Regions from separate parts of the Homo sapiens genome. Here regions 1 and 2 are each linked to region 3. Evidence: promoter capture Hi-C in 16 types of primary human blood cells and fetal thymus (Javierre and others, 2016). All regions are on one chromosome and are shown on one strand. The core of a region is centred on a gene start or on the middle of the fragment in contact, and the rest is flanking DNA. Distances in the headings are between cores, read along the strand shown. Region 1 holds the start of GALNT4 (polypeptide N-acetylgalactosaminyltransferase 4). Region 2 holds the start of WASHC4 (WASH complex subunit 4). Region 3 holds the start of TMPO (thymopoietin).

Region 1 (3,548 bases), core at 1-2,500, 9.0 Mb before region 3:
CCCCACACTTCCATTCCTGTGTCATACGTTCCAAGGTACTGAAAATATTTCTTGCTGACAGCAAACAGTCCTCCAGCCATGGTAGGTGATCTGATGGGGTCAATTCTTGATATCCGCCTGTCCCTTTCCTGTTTGGGGACAGAATGCCACTGAAATGTTAAACGCCAGTCAAACCCACCAATCATGGGCTCCCCTATCTGCATATAGAATTCAAAAGTATTCCAATCAATTGTGTCTATAACAGGACACACAACTGCTGTTTCATCTCTCCCAATCCTTTCCAAAAGCGGTTCCAGCCAACCGGAATTACACTCACAGTGACAATCCAGGAAAGTGAGGACGTCCCCAGTGGCGAAAGTGGCCCCAATCAGACGGGCCCTAACCAGCCCCTCTCGCTTATTGGTCCTAATCAAGCGTACTCTATCAAGATTGCTGATGTAAGTTTCAAGTTGTGTCTTCAAATAAACTCTGTCACTCAAGTCATCCACCAAGATGATCTCTTTCAAAAGAACTGCAGGAGAAGTTTCTAAAACACTGTGAATGGTACGGAGCAAAGTCGACCAGGCTTCGTTATAGAAAGCAATGATAACAGAGGTGGTAGGAAGTGTCCTATAGTTGAACTTCTGGGACTTACACTCATACATTCTTTTATCCTCTATGTGTCGATGCAGGGAAATCCTGTCACTGAGGTAAATATTGATGGCGTATCTCTCAATGAGTTCTTCTTGCTGCTTCAGTTCATCCTCGTTGAGCTGGAGTTTGCTGGCTTTCCCCCACTCCCCAAGTGCACGGGAATCTGCAGGGGGCTTCTTATAAAGCGGTCGAGACAAATCCTCCGTATTTTTCTGGAGGTCTGAGAGCCTTCTTGACCCCAGCTCCCTGGCACGGCCGGCTCCTGCGGAGGCATGAAAAGTAGAGACCAAGAGCTCCACGAAGATATAGGCCACTGTTAAAAACGCCAGCAGCAGGCAGCTCTTGCCTGCCCAAGTCCACCTCACCGCCATCCGGATTCTCAGGGCTGAGGCGCAGACGCGGCCACCAAGCCACCACGCAGGGGAAGGGCGGCGGAACCCACAGCTCGAGCTCAGGTACTTCCCAGCAGGTTCTTCCTTTCATGCAGGCGCTAGGCTCCTTTCCAGCCACCCAGGCTTTCCAGGGGTCACCTGAGCCCTCTCGGTCCTCGGCCTCCGGCACAGCCCAACTCCTCTCTCCCTACTTCCTCCTGCTCGGCTCACAACTTTTCACAAACTCTCCAGCCAACACCCCACCCTCCCCGGGCCGAGGAGAAACCCCTCCCCTTCCCACTCACTCCTCCTGGTGGTTAGTTTGCGAAAGTCGTCCGCCAGGCCCAGACCGCTGGATAGGAGGCTCTTGGCCGGGCCGGGGGCTGGGGGCCGGGATGGCAGAGGGGGCCCTAGCTGCGCCCCGCCGCGCTGGGCCCTCGTCTCCGGGTGCTCTCAACCCTCATACAGGCCCTTAGCCGTTCTCCTAGGGACCCTGCCCGGACAGGAGGAAAGGTTTCCGGCCCATGGAGTTTAGTCTCATTACAAAAGCAAAACAAGAATAAGACTTACCAAGTTGCTTGCCGTTGGGGCTGAGGTCCAAGGAGGTGATCGCAGCTTTGTGGCCTTTGAAATAACGCTCCAGAACGGGGTCCTCCTGGAAAGGAAAGTTGTCAAGTTTTGAAAGCCGCCGCAGACCTCGAATTCTGGCGGCTGGGATCCACGCTGCCACTTCCCCGGAGTCCGGCTTGGGAATGGCCACCCAGGCGGCGGCTTGGCTGGGCGGCGGGGCCGGGCAGCAGCCCACCCACGGGCGCGGCGCCCAGTCCTGCTACAGGGAGACGCCGGCGCCAGCTCTCCCCGCAGAGCCCGCAAAACGCTCTGTTCGCGCTTCCCAGAGTCCAGCGCATCGCAGGAACCGCGGCCCCTTTGAAATGCACGTTCCCGGGCCCCGCCCGCTGGCCCAAGGCAGGCAGGTGCGAGGATGCGCCTCGGCTTTGGTACTTTTTTTTTTTTTAATACTTCCTAGGTGATTCTGACGCAGGCGCTCCACGGAAACCCTCCGAGAATTCTGGGGGCCGTGGGGCCGCCCAGCTCAGTCCGGAGCTCCGGAACTCGGGGAAGAGCGTCCGGGAGCCGGGTCTGGGTTCCGCACTCCGTCCGCCCCGATGGCAGAGAGTGAGATACGGACGCCCCGGGACGAGGGGCTCAGGACCCGGCTACGGACACCTGCCTCCATCTCCCTCCAGGTGCGGCTTCGGCCCGGACCTGGCCCCGCAGCCCGCGGGACAGGCTCCAGGGAGGGACCCCCCCCACCTCCAACCCGTCCTTACCGTGGCTGAGGCCATCGGGGGAGTGGTCGGCCCAAGGCTCCTGTGGGTGGGGGAACCCGGAGAGGGGAGGGGAGAGGATGGGGAAGGAGAGGGGACCGTGCGGCTCCCGGAACCGTCTGCCCAGAGCGGCAGCGCCTCCCGGTCACTACAACAACGGCGGCCCAGTCAAACCCCGCGCTCCAGGCATGGCCAGCCGAGCCCCGAGACACCGCCAGCCCTGTAAAGAGAGGACGGGAGGTATGCGCCGGGTCAGCTGTGGCCACACACCAAGCCATGTTAACTAACACTCGCGTTCTCCCTGGTTTGATGTCAGGAAGTGGGGTAGTAACCAGGACTGGAATAAGAGCGATGAATGGAAGGGCGTTGTGAGCCTGTGATCGATGCGATCAGAGTTCTATTACGTTTTAAAGAGACAGCACCCGTGACGTTTAAGGTGATCCCCTACCGCTTATTTTGTTGACGTAAAGCTTTGACATGAAGAGGGGCAGCTTGCTAGTTATTAATATACTAAAAGGAACTAAATCCCCTGAGGGCAGATTTGAATTTATTTAACCACTGTTTTCCACACAGTGCCCTGCAGGATATTGATATAGTTGCTGGATGTGCGTGATGAATGAATGAGTGAATGAATGAATAAATGTTGTGCATGCACTTAATAATTTTCTGCGATATGTTTCCATTCTCATCTGCTTATTTGCGTATACCTTAGAGCACTAAACTTACACAGCTGGATACTTAAAGTCTTTAGGAAGACTTGGAAACATGGTTTTTTTTGTTTGTTTTTTGTGAGACCACGTTTCTACAGCAGGCTTTGTTACACATAGTATCATTTGTGCTTCAGCCAAACAATGAAGTTGGTAGAATTACAAAATGTTTTCAATGTTTCCAAGTTATAAACTTGATTCCTAGATATTGGTCTTAGAGGTCACACAGAGACAGTTCTTCTAATTCCAAGTCCATATCCTTTTTTTTTTTTTAACCCTGCCTCAAAGCGTGATGTTCTGAGCTGAAAATTACATATAGTGTAAAGATCCTTAGCAACATCAAAGGGCATGATAGAACACAGCTGGTAAGACATGTGTTTTATGCAAATGAAAGGTATGCTACACACCTTAATTACAGATTCCCTAGTTGTCTAGTGATTGAGTTTAATTTTATTGAATATGGTACTTAACAACTAAACAGGTAGGCTTTAGATTACAGTATTAGTTAA
Region 2 (3,744 bases), core at 48-2,547, 6.6 Mb after region 3:
AAAAAGTTTGTCAGCCATTAGACCCTAAGGATGCCTGTTCTTTTCAAGATTTTTTTTTTCTTTCTGAAATGCCCACTAAGTCTGCCATAGGGTCAGAAAGCAATTTTCTTACATGTTTTATAGTTTCTGCATCTAGCCTGGTGCCTGGTACCCAGTGGGCACTCAATAAACATTTAACTCAGGGCAGATCCAATGACCTCAGAAGAATGCTCTTCAATAGACCTTTTGCCTACATTGATTAGTTCTTTTCGGTACTTTTTAAGATTACAAGAGTAAAACCCTAATAAATTCTCATTGTTAAGGATTCAAAACACATAAGTAGACACATCAAAACTTGAAAATCCTGTTACTCACCAACACATGCTTTTCCCCAGGTAACCACCGTCCTCTGATTTGTCTTCCTATGAATTTACATACACGTAGGCACATACGCGTTTGTATAACTTAAAAACATAAATGTAATCACAAATACACATTACTCTGCAACTGTCTTGTGTCGGTTGTTCATGCCATTATAAATATATTTCATCTATTTTAGCAGCTCTTCAGTGATTCGTAGTATGGATGTATTGAGCTTTATGTAATTCACTTGTAATGAACATTTAGATAGTTTCCTATTAAAAACCACGTTGCTATAAATATTCTTGTGCAAATACGTGTATGCATGTAGAATTTTACACCGATCCCGATTCTCCAAAAATCCAAATTGCAGGTGGGATCATTTTAGAATGTACTTCAATAGCGTTCTTCATCCTGCCTCGCGTTTTTAAAAGGACTGAGTGGAGAGCGGGGAAGAGGTCGTAAGATCCCCTGTTAGGGTGTTCATAAAGTAACTTCTCCTCTCGCACAGAACGTCTTGACTAAAAAACAATCCGTACAGAATGTGCGGGAGAGCTGTAGGAACTCCTACGGTGGCGACAGAGAGGGAAACAGGCTTGTTGGAAGAAGCGCCTGGTCAGCGTTATCCTCGAGGATCATGCCTTCCTGTTAATTCCCCACCCCATCAATTCTACCTTTTTAGGTTAGACTGGGGAGTAACTTTCCCAGGTATTAAAAATCGTCTAGAGAGAGCAGGGCGAAATTAGAGTGCCGAAGTGGCTTGAGAAGCACAGTGAATGGTGGCGAAGCCCGAGCCGGGTCGCAAGACGCCCGCTGGCACTGCCGGCGCCATGGCGGCCGCCTTCGGCCACGGCGGAGGACTCGCTTTCCCAGGGGCCCCCGCGGTCGCAGGGGCAACGAGCCCGGCCGGCCCTCGCGAGCGGAGGCGGGGCCGGGGCCGGAAGTCACGTGCTGTGACAGTAGCTGGGGTGAGGCCGTCGTCGCCGCACGGGCTGGTTGGGGCTGTGTCTGTGGGAGGCGCCGGGGTGATGGCGGTGGAGACTCTGTCCCCGGACTGGGAGTTTGACCGCGTTGACGACGGCTCGCAGAGTAAGGGAGCTGCAGGGCGAGGGCTGCGGGTGGACGCTCCTTCGGCCCGCCGCTGTTCTGGGCTGGGCAGCGCTCCTGCGAGAGGGACGGCTGCGCAGCCGTCTGGTGCGGGACACTTCAGAGCCCTTGGGGTGTGCGAGGGACGCGCTCTCCAGCGTTACTTTCGGGGTTGGGGTCCCAGCCACGGCGGGTCAGGCTGCCCGTTCAGGGCTCGGCGTGTGAGGCGGAGACTCTCCTGGGGAGCCTGCGGTGCCCCGCGGGGAGCGGCGTCCCCCTTCAGCTGCCCCGGGGCTTGGGCGGGGCGCGCCCGGGAGGCCCAGCGGCCCCGGGATCCCAGGCTGCTTCTGTCTCTGGCCTCTTGGGGATTTCGCCAGATTCTGAGCGTTCAGCTCTGGAGGACGCTGATGTCTGGGTTCCTGTTTCGGTTTCCTGTTTTTCTTCTTTTCCTCCCAAATCAACTTTTGCAAGTTTGGGTGTCTTTCCCATCGCGTTGCTATAACCGTAGAAGGGAGCGAAAAAAGAACTTTTCACCCTGCGAAAATAAACACGTGAATGTCATTTTATCATTTTCCAGGCCTTTTATTTATGCTAAGTGATATTTTTCAGTGATGTTCTGCAGTTTCCATCGCAGTTATAAAGGCTTCAAAAATTACAGCAAATCTTCAAATTTTGCTTCACAAGATCGAATTGTCTGATTTTAACTTAGAAGTCTATCCCGAAATAAACAAATTGTGTTTCTTTCAGTAAAATATTGAGGCCAAATTAATTGTAGTGAAACTCTACTTGAAATAAATACAAGTTGGCAATCTGCTTCTTATCTTTGGTCATAGTAATCTGTGTAAGTGATCTAAGAGAGATTGGAGCATGCTGTTTGTGATTTTTTTTTTCCCTCATAGTTTTCCCAAAAGGTGGAACGTTGCTTTTAAAAATTCCGGATGAATTTTGCTTGATTTACGAAGAGAGACTAATGCCTACAATGTTAGATGAATTAGGTTTTACAAGTCTCTCAGAGAAGAGTGAGCTACATCCAGGATGGGTTGCAGTTTTTCACAAAACATTCCTGAGGTCAGGAGTTCAAGACCAGCCTGGCTAACATGGTGAAACCCCGTCTCTACTAAAAAATAAATAGCTGGGCTTGGTGGCGAGCGCCTGTAATTCCAGCTACTTGGGAGGCTGAGGCAGGAGAATCGCTTGAACCCGGCAGGCGGAGGTTGCAGTGAGCCGAGATCGCGCCATTGCACTCTAGCCTGGGTGATAATAAGGTATTAGCTCTTATGCAGCATAAAAATTAACCTTGGAGATAATGACAAAATCTTTTAATTTTTTTTTGTGGAGGGGATTCTGTATTGTTATAAAGTGAACTGTACCTTGTCATATATGTTTTATGGACAAAGATGACGAACTGGTATCTTCAAAAAAAATTGGAATAGAGTTATGTTAATTGAGTTTGAAAATGGTTCAGCCTGGAGTAGAATGGTCTGATTCACTCAACAGATATTTTCTACAACCAGTGGCTGTGCTAGATATTAGGGATAAAAAGATAAAACAAGGAGTGCAGTCTGTTGACAAAGATGAGCATGTTAAGTAGGTTTTTGGAATTTTTACTCTTAAAAAATTACCATGTAGTTCTTATCTCAACTTTTGTTATTTTAACTTTCACCAATTTTACAACCGTTTATTGTCAGCAAGGAACTTTTAATGTTATTTTAGGTTTTCTGTTTCCTGTTTGTGAATCCCTGAACATACTAAAGGAGTGATTTATTGGCGTGGTGTTTCTCTAGCATTGTCTTTTTTTTTTTTTTTTTTTTTCGAGACAAGGTCTCACTCTGTCGCCCAGTGCCGTGGCATCGCCACGGCTCACTGCAGCCTCGACCAGCTGAGCTCAGGTGATCTTCCTACCTCAGCCTCCTTAGTAGCTGGCTGATTTTTTCTTTTTAAATTGGGATAGAGACAAGGTTTTGCCATGTTGAACTCCTGGTCTCAAGCGACCCACCGGCCTTGGCCTCCTAAAGTGTTGGGGTGAGCCACCATGCCCGGCCTAGCATTGTCTTTAAGAAGTCATTTGCTGGTCAAATGCAGCTTTGACTGGTCATTTCCTGTGTAGTTGAGAATAAGACAACTATTTGGGGTTCTGAGAATCTGGGCAGTCTTATATGTAAGCTGTAGGGAAGAGAACACCTCCCTGTGCTTGGCGTTCATTAATTTTTGGTCTGTGAATCATATCTAGACTAATTGTTTTCCAAAATTGCCTAGATTAATGCTATAATAAGACAGAAACCTTAATGAACTAAATGGATTCACCGGATTTAAAACTTT
Region 3 (3,406 bases), core at 194-2,693:
TAAAAACATTTGCCTATGTGTCCAGGGAAGCTGTGAGGACAAAAAACCAAGCAACTTTTACAAGGGATCATAAAAACCTACCTAACAACTTGCTAATTAAAACCTGATTTTTAATTTGCATTATTGAGCTTAATACCATTGCTTAAATGTATGTGAATACTGAGATTTTTATAAAGGAATTAGTTACCTCTAGGAAAATAATTATCACTAAAAGAAATAATATCGCAATTTGAATAAAAGTAAGTCGCTTAAATCATAGGAAACATTTTTAGTGAAGGCGTTTGTTTTAAATGTATTCTAACCTAGCAATGTAGAAAGCAGGCAAACATTTAAAAAAAATTTAACCAGTTTCTAAAACATAGTTTGGAGCTCAGATTCTGGGGAAATGATTAACACACCCTACATCCAAGGTCTCCTTTCCTTTCTAGAAAGAAAGCATCTTTAAACATACATATTCATCAGAAATACAAATATTTGTCATCAGTGATACTAATTTCCAGGCAAACATTTTAATTGCAGTCAATGTATTAGATTCTACCAGGTTTTAATTTGGATCGGTAATACGGGTTTGATTAGGGTTCTAGGCCTAATTATAGGTCACTAGTCTTCCTTTAGGATTATGCACCATCTGTTATTTTAAATTGACCATTGAGGGGGTTCCCAAGGGTTCTCCTTCGTTTTGTTATCAAACGTTAGGTTTAGGATTCTTGCGGGTGGTGGGATCCAAAGCCAGAGACGGTTTCAACAAAAATGCAAGCGCGAATTTGTCTTGCGTCTGAACGCACTGTTCAAATTAAACAATTTAGACATGCCCCAACTATGACACTAAGAAGTGAATGGTATAGTACACTTTTGTCACAAATTCAAGGGTAATTTAAGTGCCCGATTGTAGAGGTCTGGCTTCCCCTGGGTTTCTGGAACAAAAGAAGCGTTCGCGAGGAGAGGGGTAACTCCCCGCCCTCCCCCTCCCAAAGTAAATCAAATCAAGGAATATGAGTGCCTGCAGACAAGCCTCGCTTCTTTTCTTCCCCTTCAGGGCTAGCGTTTGGGGAAGGCAAGGCTGCGGCTACTCTTGGAGCTTCAGTGTCCCGGGAGGAAGAAAGGCCCAGCCAAGGGTCCTCACACTGGCGTGGAATTCGGCGCGTTCGTAGGCGATCGACCCCAGAGACGAAAGCTGCTTCTCAAGCTGGGGGAGGGAGAGGAAACGGCGCACAAAAGCAGTACGACCTGTCCCTTATCGGCGTCTAAGGGGAAGGGTGGAGAAAACGAAAACAGAAGCGGGCCGGGAGCCTCGGCTCCCGCCCCAGCGCCTTTTAAACTGCGTTTCTACCTCCTCTCGCTCAGCGCGGCGGCTAATGGAACCCGCGCGAGCCGTCTCGCCAATCACCGCCGCGCTTCCTCCCGTCGCCCGCCAATGGCGGCGCGCGTTCTTGGGGCGTGGGCGAAGCAGGCTGCTCGCCTCCTGCCTGTAGTGTGTGGGCTGGGGTTGGTGCGAGCTTCCAGCTTGGCCGCAGTTGGTTCGTAGTTCGGCTCTGGGGTCTTTTGTGTCCGGGTCTGGCTTGGCTTTGTGTCCGCGAGTTTTTGTTCCGCTCCGCAGCGCTCTTCCCGGGCAGGAGCCGTGAGGCTCGGAGGCGGCAGCGCGGTCCCCGGCCAGGAGCAAGCGCGCCGGCGTGAGCGGCGGCGGCAAAGGCTGTGGGGAGGGGGCTTCGCAGATCCCCGAGATGCCGGAGTTCCTGGAAGACCCCTCGGTCCTGACAAAAGACAAGTTGAAGAGTGAGTTGGTCGCCAACAATGTGACGCTGCCGGCCGGGGAGCAGCGCAAAGACGTGTACGTCCAGCTCTACCTGCAGCACCTCACGGCTCGCAACCGGCCGCCGCTCCCCGCCGGCACCAACAGCAAGGGGCCCCCGGACTTCTCCAGTGACGAAGAGCGCGAGCCCACCCCGGTCCTCGGCTCTGGGGCCGCCGCCGCGGGCCGGAGCCGAGCAGCCGTCGGCAGGGTAAGGACGCGGGGCCGGGGCTACAAAGGCGGGCGTTTGGCGGTTGCCGCGCGCGCTCGCCGCCGTTTGCAGCCCCTCCCTCCCGGGCGCCCCCTCGGGCCTCCCAGGTGCGGGGCTGTCCCTGCGCCCCCTCGCGTCGCCCCTTCCCCGCGGGGCTGCAGGCGCCGGAGCGGAGAGGCCAGAAGTTGGGGCCGCGGGGTTCGCGTTCTTTGACGTGTGGGTCTGGGAGGTGTGGAGTTGCGTTGGCGGCGGTTGTTTTGCACGCAGTCGACGCCGCTTCCCTGGACCACCAGCCGCCTGCAGCGGGCGTTTAGACGGGGACTTCCGTGCCCTTTCGAAAGCTCTGGAGGGGTGGCCCCAAAATGCTATAGGTTAAGTTCGAGCGTTTTCCCGCTTTATTAACTGAAATGACTCGCAGCAGAGTCTCAGAGCGCTCCCTGGAGGGCAACTGATGACACTCTAATTTCTAACCAAAATTTGAAATGAGGAAATTCCCGCCTTTTTATACTTTTGCGTGTGGAGGGCTTTTTGAACCGTTTATGTTTTCTAGTTTGTTTTAATTTTTCCCAGCAACAGGCCATCTTTTGGCGGAACAGGTTCATGCCGAATTAAAAGGAGCATTTTAAACTATATTTTTAGGCGCCTATTATAATTTTTTAGTTTTTATTTATTTATTTTTTTAGATGGAGTGTCGCACTTGTTGCCCAGGCTGGAGTGCAATGGCGAGATCTCGGCTCACCGCAACCTCCACCTCCCGGGTTCAAGCGATTCTCCTGCCTCAGCCTCCCGAGTAGCTGGGATTACAGGCATGCGCCGCCACGCCCGGCTGATTTGTGTATTTTTTAGTAGAGACGGGGTTTCTCCAAGTTGGTCAGGCTGGTCTCGAACTCCTGACCTCAGGTGGTCCTCCCGCCTCGGCCTCACAAAGTGCTGGGATAACAGGCGTGAGCCACCGGGCCCGGCCCTGCAAACAAATATTTGAAAATTGCAGTTTGGATTGCGTTTTCCCCACATATTGGTAAATTTTGCTTGAGGAAACGAAAGACTTAGGATTCAGGAAAAATTTATTTCATGACATTCTGGTGCATCAGTATTGCAATTTGGAATGTCTGATCCTGGTTAAATCTCAAATCGGCTCCAGCAAAGCATGTTTTGTTTCAGAATAGTTTGCTTTTTTACCTGTGGATTTTAATATGCTTTTTGTGGGTTTGCTTATGCCTGCCGAGTTACCAGGCTTCAAATCGTAATAGGATGAAGCTAAAACTAGTAATTGGTGTAACATAAAATGCCTTGTAAGAGACAGTGAATGTGGTGTTTGGAGTTGTTGGGAATGATCACTAGTTTAAACCGAAATTATTCCTTCCTTCAAATTTTACTTTAGTTTTTAAGGAACCTGTCTAATGTGT

What was found. Contacts are between HindIII fragments. The CHiCAGO score rates a contact against its expected background, and 5 or more counts as called.
Region 1: the fragment with the promoter of GALNT4 here is called in contact with the fragment with the promoter of TMPO in region 3 in 1 of 17 cell types (naive CD8 T cells); the score reaches 5.3 in naive CD8 T cells.
Region 2: the fragment with the promoter of WASHC4 here is called in contact with the fragment with the promoter of TMPO in region 3 in 1 of 17 cell types (neutrophils); the score reaches 5.4 in neutrophils.

The regions. Positions count from the first base shown.
Region 1 is chr12:89,523,546-89,527,093 of GRCh38, forward strand. It overlaps GALNT4 (polypeptide N-acetylgalactosaminyltransferase 4), which reads right to left and starts at 1,251. Exons shown (of 1, transcript NM_003774.5): 1 at 1-1,251. The coding sequence starts at 1,004. It overlaps POC1B-DUSP6 (POC1B-DUSP6 readthrough), which reads right to left and starts at 2,502. Exons shown (of 11, transcript NR_189589.1): 1 at 2,336-2,502; 2 at 1,575-1,659. POC1B (POC1 centriolar protein B) reads right to left here and starts at 2,502. Exons shown (of 12, transcript NM_172240.3): 1 at 2,336-2,502; 2 at 1,575-1,659. The coding sequence starts at 2,350. POC1B-GALNT4 (POC1B-GALNT4 readthrough) reads right to left here and starts at 2,717. Exons shown (of 3, transcript NM_001199782.1): 1 at 2,336-2,717; 2 at 1,575-1,659; 3 at 1-128. The coding sequence starts at 2,610. It also overlaps POC1B-AS1. RefSeq lists an enhancer at 968-1,177 and silencers at 1,268-1,647, 2,198-2,457. The HindIII fragment of the contact is 3,011 bases long and covers 1-2,800 here.
Region 2 is chr12:105,106,434-105,110,177 of GRCh38, forward strand. WASHC4 (WASH complex subunit 4) reads left to right here and starts at 1,298. Exons shown (of 33, transcript NM_015275.3): 1 at 1,298-1,428. The coding sequence starts at 1,368. It overlaps LOC414300 (a long non-coding RNA gene), which reads right to left and starts at 1,209. Exons shown (of 2, transcript NR_121211.1): 1 at 355-1,209. RefSeq lists silencers at 1,107-1,386, 1,597-1,846 and enhancers at 1,407-1,566, 3,405-3,564. The HindIII fragment of the contact is 7,983 bases long and covers 1-3,744 here.
Region 3 is chr12:98,514,147-98,517,552 of GRCh38, forward strand. It overlaps TMPO (thymopoietin), which reads left to right and starts at 1,444. Exons shown (of 9, transcript NM_001032283.3): 1 at 1,444-2,000. The coding sequence starts at 1,722. It overlaps TMPO-AS1 (TMPO antisense RNA 1), which reads right to left and starts at 2,080. Exons shown (of 2, transcript NR_027157.1): 1 at 1,845-2,080; 2 at 1-1,751. RefSeq lists enhancers at 1,064-1,143, 1,404-1,593 and a silencer at 1,934-2,203. The HindIII fragment of the contact is 4,246 bases long and covers 1-3,406 here.